3 separate regions of the Homo sapiens genome follow, and all the other regions are linked to region 3. The links are contacts of gene promoters, found by promoter capture Hi-C in human tissues and cell types (Jung and others, 2019). All regions are on one chromosome and are shown on one strand. Each heading gives the region's core, a stretch centred on a gene start or on the middle of the fragment in contact. The rest is flanking DNA. Distances are from core to core; before and after follow the strand shown.

Evidence for each region. Contacts are between HindIII fragments. The study calls those that stand out against the background at their distance.
Region 1: a fragment that was not itself captured here is called in contact with the fragment with the promoter of PSMA8 in region 3 in 5 of the 25 tissues and cell types used here (aorta, liver, lymphoblastoid cells and 2 more).
Region 2: a fragment that was not itself captured here is called in contact with the fragment with the promoter of PSMA8 in region 3 in 3 of the 25 tissues and cell types used here (heart left ventricle, lymphoblastoid cells and small bowel).

The regions. Positions count from the first base shown.
Region 1 is chr18:26,048,758-26,051,738 of GRCh38, forward strand. The region is part of intron 5 of SS18 (SS18 subunit of BAF chromatin remodeling complex); the gene reads right to left. Among named protein-coding and RNA genes, the nearest start is that of SS18, 40 kb to the right of the region's middle. The HindIII fragment of the contact is 4,682 bases long and covers 1-2,981 here.
Region 2 is chr18:26,243,705-26,246,931 of GRCh38, forward strand. All of the region lies in intron 1 of TAF4B (TATA-box binding protein associated factor 4b), which reads left to right. Among named protein-coding and RNA genes, the nearest start is that of TAF4B, 19 kb to the left of the region's middle. RefSeq lists a silencer at 1,131-1,489. The HindIII fragment of the contact is 3,830 bases long and covers 1-3,227 here.
Region 3 is chr18:26,132,340-26,135,280 of GRCh38, forward strand. It overlaps PSMA8 (proteasome 20S subunit alpha 8), which reads left to right and starts at 1,530. Exons shown (of 7, transcript NM_001025096.2): 1 at 1,530-1,728. The coding sequence starts at 1,627. The HindIII fragment of the contact is 10,391 bases long and covers 1-2,941 here.

The DNA.
Region 1 (2,981 bases), core at 177-2,676, 84 kb before region 3:
AACTTAGCCACGTGAATCAACACTTTCTTAATACTATTAAAACACCCAGAAATAAATTAGATGCTGTGGCTAAAATAAGACAGTAGCTGATAAACCAATCTCAAATGTTTTTGTGTTCACCTTTTTAAAAAAGCTTGATGATTAGCCAACTGATTTTATAAAAATTATGCAAATGATTACCAAGTCAGGATTTTTACATGCATCATTTCACTTAATCTTACTTAGAGAAATTAAGTAATTTAGTCAAAGGTCCCACATACAGTAAGCTACAGGGGGCCAAGACATATCCAAATCTGAAGAATTACACACATGGAACTTACAAAACATATTCTTTAACACAAGCACTGCAATTTGTAAAATTCTTTATATTTGAATATATAATTAGTAAAATTCTGTTAAATGTGGAAAGCTATAATTACTAATGCCTGATAATGAAAAATACACAGGTATCTGTCCAATATAACATCTTCAGAAATCCCTTCTACACAATTTGCCTTTTCATACACTGAATGTACTTGTTGATTAAATAAACATTTTTCAGACAGGTGATCATATAACACTTGCTTTTTACTGAAGAAATGAAAGAAATAAATAAGATTTTGTGTGTCCATCCTCAGGCATTTTTCTAGGCACCTGGGATACAGCAGAGAACACACTTCCTGCTTTTATAGAGCTTGTTGAATTCTAGTGAAGTTTATGCTCTATATGCAAATAAGTTTATGTAGGAAGATGGTGGTTTACTCTGAAAACTGGAGTTACTCTTTTTGTTTTTTTAGAGACGGTCTTGCTCTGTCACCCAAGCTGGAGTGCAGTGACACCAGCAAACTCACTACAGCCTCGAAGTCCTGTGCTCAAGTGAACCTCCTGCCTCCACCTCCAAGTAGCTGGGACTGCAGGCACAAGCTACCACGCCCAGCTAATTTTCACATTTCTTTTTGTAAAAAATGCAAGTCTTGCCATCTTGCCCAGGCTGGTCTTCAACTCCTGGGGTCAAGTGATCCTCCCATTTCAGCCTCCCAAAGTGTTGAGGTTACAAGCAAGGGCACCAACGCCCAGCCAGATCTTTCTCTTAAGGTTCAAAATGACAAAAAAATAAACTTTATCTGGGTAACAGTGACAATAACATGGGAAAATATATGTTGGATTGACTATTATACTTAAGCAACATTTTGCCAGCAGTTTAAGAAACAAATTAACATAAAAATTGGGCCCAGCGCAGTGGCTTGCGCCTGTAATCCCAACACTTCGGGAGGCTGAGGTGGATGGATGGCTTGAGGTCAGGAGTTCAAGACCAACCTGGCCAACATGTCTCTACTAAAATACAAAAATTAGCTGGGCGTGATGGCAGGCACCTGTCATCCCAGCCCCTAGGAAGGCTGAGGCAGAAGAATTGCTTGAACCCAGGAGGCGGAAGCAGCAGTGAGCCGAGACTGCACTTCTGCACTCCAGCCTGGGCGACAAAAAGTGAGACTCCACCTCAAAAAAAAAAAAAAATTTGTGCTAAAGTGCTCACCTGGAAGCAATAGACCCTCTAAGAGAACACAGAGAAAAACATTTTGCAATACTAGCTTAGTTGCTGAATTAAAACAAATAAAAATAAATAATAATAAACAGAAAAACTTTCAATGTAAAATATGCAGCTTATTTTTATAAAAACTAAGAAAATGTTTTATAATGAAATGAATATTAAAACTTCATTAATAAAACTCTTCAATCATCCTCTAGCATCTAGTAAAAAAATTCATTAATAAAACTCACCATGAACTTCTTTATTAAAAGGTAACATATAATTAAAATGCTTTTATAAGAAACTCATATGATTAAAAAACTAGGTGCTGCCAGAACACTGTATAACTTTCTTTTTTGGTAACTGTAATTTTGTGTTCTTTTGATTCTGAAATATCAAAATTTAAATGAAGTTTTTTATTTGTCCTAAAGAGATTTTTAAAACAATAAAGATTTCCGGTGAAACCCTGTCTCTACTAAAAATACAAAAAAAAAATTAGCCGGGCGTAGTGGTGGGTGCCTGTACTCCCAGCTACTTGGGAGGCTGAGGCAGGAGAATGGTGTGAACCCGGGAGGCGGAGCTTGCAGAGAGCAGAGATTGTGCCACTGCACTCCAGCCTGGGCAACAGAGCCAGACGCCGTCTCAAAATAAATAAATAAATAAATAAACAAATAAAAATTTCCTCAATGATTTTAACCATATTTTCTTTTTGAAAATTGTCTTTAATCTCTTCAGATCTCTACCTGGTCATTTCTGTACAGCCTATTTTCTATTAAGAAGTTCATAAACTGACCAGGTGCAGTGGCTCATGCCTGTAATCCCAGGACTTTGGGAGGCCAAGGCAGGTGATCACTTAAGCCCAGGTGTTCAAGACCAGCCTGGGCAACATACCAAGACATTGTTTCTATTCTTTTAACAAAATACAAAAAATAAAAATAAAAAAGAAGAAATTTATAACTATGAGAACAAGGCAAAAAGTGATATAACTACTGTACTATAGTAAAAGGAAGACCTACACATACTTACAAAATACGACATTTTTAAAAATAAAAGTTGGTCCCTAAGAACAAAAAATTTCTAAAAACACCTCAATACTTTTCTCCAAAAAGTCAATATGCACATTGCTATATGCATTATTTTTTTCTTCGAATCTTATTATGTCATATCAAACCATGCTGCAGCAACATCCATTTTTTGTGCACACCATACCTTTTCTTAACTATAGGTTTCTAAGAAGTTAAGAAGTGTGCCATCATTAATGGAGTTGCTGTCAGAATCATCAATTTTCCTGTTCTCTCTCCTGGTAACCAAACTGTATAGAGAAACACATGAACTCCCTTCTGATCTAGCACTGACTGGATCTTGCTGTTGTTTGGACTTTTAATTGACCTAATAAAAACAAAAAAATAATTCTACCATAAGCATTAAGTAACTTTGGGGGAAAAAAATGTAGCAAGTGCCAGTTTTGTGAAGC
Region 2 (3,227 bases), core at 628-3,127, 110 kb after region 3:
CCATCTTTGTGGTTTTGTCTACCTTTGGTCTTTGATGATGGTGATGTACAGATGGGGTTTTGGTGTGGGTGTCCTTTCTGTTAGTTTTCCTTCTAACAGTCAGGACCCTCAGCTGCAGGTCTGTTGGAGTTTGCAGAAGGTCCACTCCAGACCCTGTTTGGCTGGGTATCACCAGTGGAGGCTGCAGTACAGCAAATATTGCAGAACAGCAAATGTTGCTGCCTGATCTTTCCTCTGGAAGCTTCGTCTCAGAGGGGCACCTGGCTGTATGAGGTGTCAGTTGGCCCCTACTGGGAGATGCCTCCCAGTTAGGCTACTCTGGCATCAGGGACCCACTTGAGGAGGCAGTCTATCCAATCTCAAACTCCGTGCTGGGAGAATCACTACCCTCTTCAAAGCTGTCCGACAGGGATGTTTATGTCTGCAGAAGTTTCTGCTGCCTTTTGTTCAGTTATGCCCTGCCCCCAGAGGTGGAGTCTACAGAGACAGGAAGGCCTCCTTGAGCTGCAGTGGGCTCCACCCAGTTCAAGCTCCCCGCCACTTTGTTTACCTATTCAAGCCTCCGCAATGGCGGACCCCTCTCCCCCAGCCTCACTGCCGCCTTGCAGTTTGATCTCAGACTGCTGTGCTAGCAGTGAGCGAGGTTCTGTGGGCGTGGGACCCTCTGAGCCAGGCGCGTGATATAATCTCCTTGTGTGCTATTTGCTAAGACCATTGGAAAAGTGCAGTATTAGGATGGGAGTGTCCTGATTTTCCAGGTACTGTCTGTCACGGCTTCCCTTGGCTAGTAAAGGCAATTCCCTGACCCCCTTGTGCTTCCTGGGTGAGGCGATGCCCCCGCAGCTTTGGCTCACACTCCGTGGGCTGCACCCACTGTCCAACAAGTCCCAGTTAGATGAACCCAGTACCTCAGTTGGGGATGCAGCAATCACCGGTCTTCTGTGTCACTTATGCTGGGAGCTGTAGACTGGAGCTGTTCCTATTCGGCCATCTTGGAACCTCCCCCCGAAATTTATACTAGAAATTATCCTTATAAGAGAAACTAGAAGAGCAACAGGGACAGGGAGTGGTTTTTAGGAGTGGGAGTAGCCTTGGAGAAGAGAGGTGGGAGGAAGTTTGTCTGACAGGCATTAGGACGCAGGAGGCAAGTTTCAGGATAGATAGGATAGATGGGTGAGTCTCGCTTGGGCGACATAACTTTGAGAGTTCCGCTCACTGCTGCAGGGTCAACCAACTTTTTGTCGGGACCCCAGAGCTGAATGTCTTTCCTCTCTGTCGACCCTTGGCTCAGCCCAGAAGTATAGGAAAAGTGGAAGCTGGTTCCAGGCAAACCAACGCTCCGAACTCCAAAGAGTCTGGGGTTGTTAGAGAGCCCTTTCCCAGAAAGCCTGACACCCGTGTCTTTAGTCTGGCGGCCATGCTAGTCATTTTTAACAGGCCAACAGGTGCCCAGTATTTAGCCCCCAAATTCTAAGGAAAAATAGGACAGAATAGCAAGCAAAAGGGGTCCGATGGTCCTTATCACGTGGCGATATCCTGAACAAGCCCCCAAGATGTGTCCAGAGTTGGTTCCTTCCAGCAGGTTTGTGGTCTCGCTGACTTCAAGAATGAAGCTGCAGACCTTCGTGGTGAGTGTTAGAGCTCTTACAGATGGCACGGACCCAAAGAGTGAGTGGTAGCAAGGTTTACTGTGAAGAGCGATAGAACAAAGCTTCCACAGTGTGGAAGGGGACCCAAGTGGGTTGCTGCTGCTGGCTGGGGTGGCCAGCTTTTGTTCCCTTATTGGCCCCTCCCATGTTCCATTTCTGTCCTATCAGAGTGCCCTTTTTTCAATCTTCCCTGTGATTGGCCACTTTTAGGATCCTGCTGATTGGTGCATTTTACAGAGCACTGATTGGTGCATTTTACAAAACGCTGATTGGTGCATTTTACAGAGCGCTGATTGGTGATTTTTAGAATGCTCTTGCTGTCTGCAGAGTGCTGATTGATGCGTTTTTACAGAGCACTGATGGTTGCATTTTACAATCCTCTTGTAAGACAGAAAAGTTCTCCAAGTCCGCACTCGACCCAGGAAGTCCAGCTGGCTTCACCTCTCATTAGTACCTATAAATGCTTCATTTTTTCAACTGCATTGTAGTCCACTGTATTGACATAACATTGTTTTTTGACCACTTGCCTATTCGCAGGCGTTGATACTGTTTGCACTACTTTCTGCTGTTAAAAATGATGCTGTGATAAACATCTTTGCATGTGTATTTTTGTGCAGTTTGGAAACGTGGATTTTTATAGGATAAATTGCTAGAAGTGGAATTGTTGGTTCAAATGGTAATATTTCAATCGGCATTGCTAAATTTTACTCCCCAAAAATTGTTTAAATATGTAATCAACAGTATTAATACTTAATTTTAGAAAACTACCCATGGAATCTAAGAAGTCATTTTTCAGACATTAATTAATGGTAAGAATATATGAGCATTGAAATTGAGGGGGAAGGTAGGATTTCAATATAGAGAAATGTAGGCTGGATGATAATACCAGTGTATGGGTTTGTTACTTACTGAATGACTATGTCTAAGAAGGCTCTTGTTACCTTGTAGTAAACTAGGTATATGATACATAGTTGTCTAGAAAGTTCAGTCCGAGACCACAGAATAAGGCCTAGATGGTATGCCAATCAAGTTTGTAGATAATAATGGGCTTGTAGGGTTGGCTTTTTGTGGAATGTAATAGAGTGTAGCAACATAGGAGAGAACATTGGTCCTGGAGTTTGAATCCCAGCTCTACCACTTGATAGCTTTGTAATCTAGGCAAGTTATTAATCTCATTGTTTTTGTGGTTTTTTTTTTCTGGATGGAGTCTCACTCTGTCGCCCACGCTGGAGTGCAGTGGCGCGATCTCAGCTCACTGCAACCTCCACCTCCCAGGTTCAAGCCATTCTCCTGCCTCAGCCTCCCAAGTAGCTGGGACAACAGGTGTGTGCCACCACACCTGGCTAATTTTTTATTTTTAGTAGAGATGGGGCTTCACAATATTGGCCAGGCTGGTCTCAAACTCCTGACCTCAGGTGATCTGCTGGCCTTGGCCTCCCAAAGTGTTGGCATTACAGGCGTGAGCCACCGCACCTGGCCTAATCTCATTCTTTTTTTTTTCTTTTTTGTTTTCTGAGATATAGTTTCACTCTTGTTGCCCAGGTTGGAGTGCAGTGGCATGATTTCGCCTCACTGCAA
Region 3 (2,941 bases), core at 280-2,779:
TGAAGAAAAGCAATGGAGGGGCAATAAGTACAAACTGCTTCAAGAGTCAACTAAAGGCCAGGTGTGGTGGCTCACACCTGTAATCGCAGTACTTTCGGATGCCAAGGCAGGAGGATTGCTTGAGACCAGGAGTTTGAGACCAGCCTGGGCAACATAGGGAAACCAAGTCCCTACGTTAAAAAAAAAAGTATTAATAATTAAATAAATTGTTTAAGTCAATTAAAATTCTGATTTAAGTATTTGGAATTCAGGGAATCAAATTTTTCCTCTTTTGAGGAAATTATTCTTTTTTTCTTTTTTTTGGTTAAAGTTGATTTCACCAACTTTAAGATCCTCCCCAGTGGAAAACTGCATATATTAAACAACACATGGAAAGCAATAATAGCTAAACTTACCTGGCTATTACTGCCCACCAGGCACCATTTTATGTAATTATGCCCATAAACACATATTAAGCTCAGAATACTCTGCTGCAGATTTTTTAATATTCCCATTTTATTGATAAGGAGAAAGCGACAGAGTTGTTTCATAGTTAGTAATGTAGCAAGTTGTAAAGAGTTTCTGCTATAGCTAAATTTCCAGACATCTTTTAAGTCTCATACTTTGGGCTTTTACAAAATTTCTCCAATTAAAAGAATATTATCTGGGCCGGGCGCGGTGGCTCACGCCTGTAATCCCAGCACTTTGGGAGGCCGAGGCAGGCGGATCACGAGGTCAGGAGATCAAGACCATCCTGGCTAACACGGTGAAACCCAGTCTCTACTAAAAATATAAAAAATTAGCCGGGCGTGGTGGCGGGCGCCTGTAGTCCCAGCTGCTCCGGAGGCTGAGGCAGGAGAATGGCGTGAACCCGGGAGGTGGAGCTTGCAGTGAGCCGAGATTGCACCACTGCACTCCAGCCTGGGCGACAGAGCGAGACTCCGTCTCAAAAAACAAAAAACAAAACAAAACAAAAAAAAGAACATTATCTTAATTCTCATCATTAGCTTAGTTTGATGGACTATTTGCTTTATTTAACGGACCATTTGCTCATCTGCTCTATTTTGCTCACAAGGCAGAAAATATCAGAAGCAACAATATTTTGAAGTTTGCTTTCTTTCCTTCGGTTCAAATAACAAGAGTTAACCTGAGAGAGAGAAAGAAAAAGTAGGAAATTTAGAATTTGAAACCAAAGGGAAGGGACTGATATTTAACTTACCACAGTTTCTCCAACATGTATGCGATAACAAAAATATCTGATATTTGAAGACCTCATTTTTAAGCCCTAATCTTTGATATTATTTTTATAACTCGAGTGCCGTGACACCATCCCTGGGGCAACACGGTAGTGGGGAAATGGAGATATGCGCTATGCGTCAGACATGAAGGGTAAGGGAAGAATGCCGTCAACTCACAGGCACTGCTTGGGTGACAAAGGCTGGCAAGCGCGAGGACATCCGCAGGCAGCCAAAGGAGCAAGGACTTCCGTGAAGCAGCCGAAGCGCGGGCGCGGGGACTTCCGGGAGGCAGCTTGAGGCGCGTGTGGAAGCGCTTCCGGGCGGTAGCACGCTGTGTTGGCGGCGGCTCCCCGCTTGCCTCAGCTGCAGCAGCGGGAAGCTCGGTGGCAAGCCCTTGTAGTCCTGTGCGATGGCGTCTCGATATGACAGGGCGATCACTGTCTTCTCCCCAGACGGACACCTTTTTCAAGTTGAATATGCCCAGGAAGCGGTGAAGAAAGGATCCACCGCGGTGAGGAAGCAACTATTACCGGACTATTCCCCGCTCTGACCTGTCAGGCCATCGTTACCCTGCTGCCCCAGCCCACCTTTCCATCCTAGGAGCTCAAGAGAGGAGATTCCCACACTTGTGAAAATTACTTTGTTCTTTTTATTTAGGGAGACAGACTTCTAGATTTGGGCCGGAAGTGGGCAGAGTAAAAGTTAGTAGATTTCCCCTATCTCTGCTGTTCAACTGCCTCTGTTTCATGGTAGCTACAGACGCAAAACTAGGGTGTGTGTGTGGGTGTGTGTGTGTGTGTGTGTGTGTCTCTGTGTGTGTGTGTGTGTGTGTAGGGACGTTAATGATGTGATTGACAATAGGGAAAGCTTCTAATCTGTAACAGCCTACCTATTGAACGCTCGTGGTCCAGTTCCTTGGTAGTTCAGAGACCCCTGGAAAAGTTAACAGTTGCTTCATGTTGGGAACTGTTTTTTAATAACAGTTACAATAAAAAATAAAAGTTGGCCACACCTGCTCCCCAAATACGGACTAAATCAATATAAAATTAAACTTTTGTTGATGAAGAAATGATTAAAAACACAGTTCAAACACACGCGTTAAAAATATCCCAAAATTGCTGGGCGCAGTGGCTCACACCTGTAATCCCAGCACTTTGGAAGGCCCAGGAGGGCGGATCACCTGAGGTCGGGAGTTTGAGACCAGCCTGACCAACATGGAGAAACTCCGTCTCTACTAAAAATACAAAATTAGCCAGGCGTGGTGGCGCATGCCTGTAATCCCAGCTACTCGGGAGGCTGAGGCGGGAGAATCGCTTGAACCTGGGAGGCAGAGGTTGCGGTGAGCCGAGATCGTGCCATTGCACTCCAGCCTGGGCAACAAAAGCGAAACTCCGTCTCGGGAAAAAAAAAAAAAATCCCAAAATTGTCCCAATATTTCCCAGCCTTGTAGAGGCTCAAAAGTCCAAGAACTTCCACTTTTTTGGCCACTTAAAAAATAATGCTGGAAGTTCCTTGAGAGATTACACCCTACCTTAGATTTATGTATCCACATTACTGAAAAACTTAAAAAATACTCAGGGTAGGAGTAATACTGCTGCCAAGTTTTAACTACGTTCAATAATTTTAGTGATTTATAAAAATTAAAGAGGACAAAAGTGCCCTAGTGACACAAGATCTATTACCCCAAATCTTCTAAGGCCTAGCCTATGAATTCAAAGGATCGG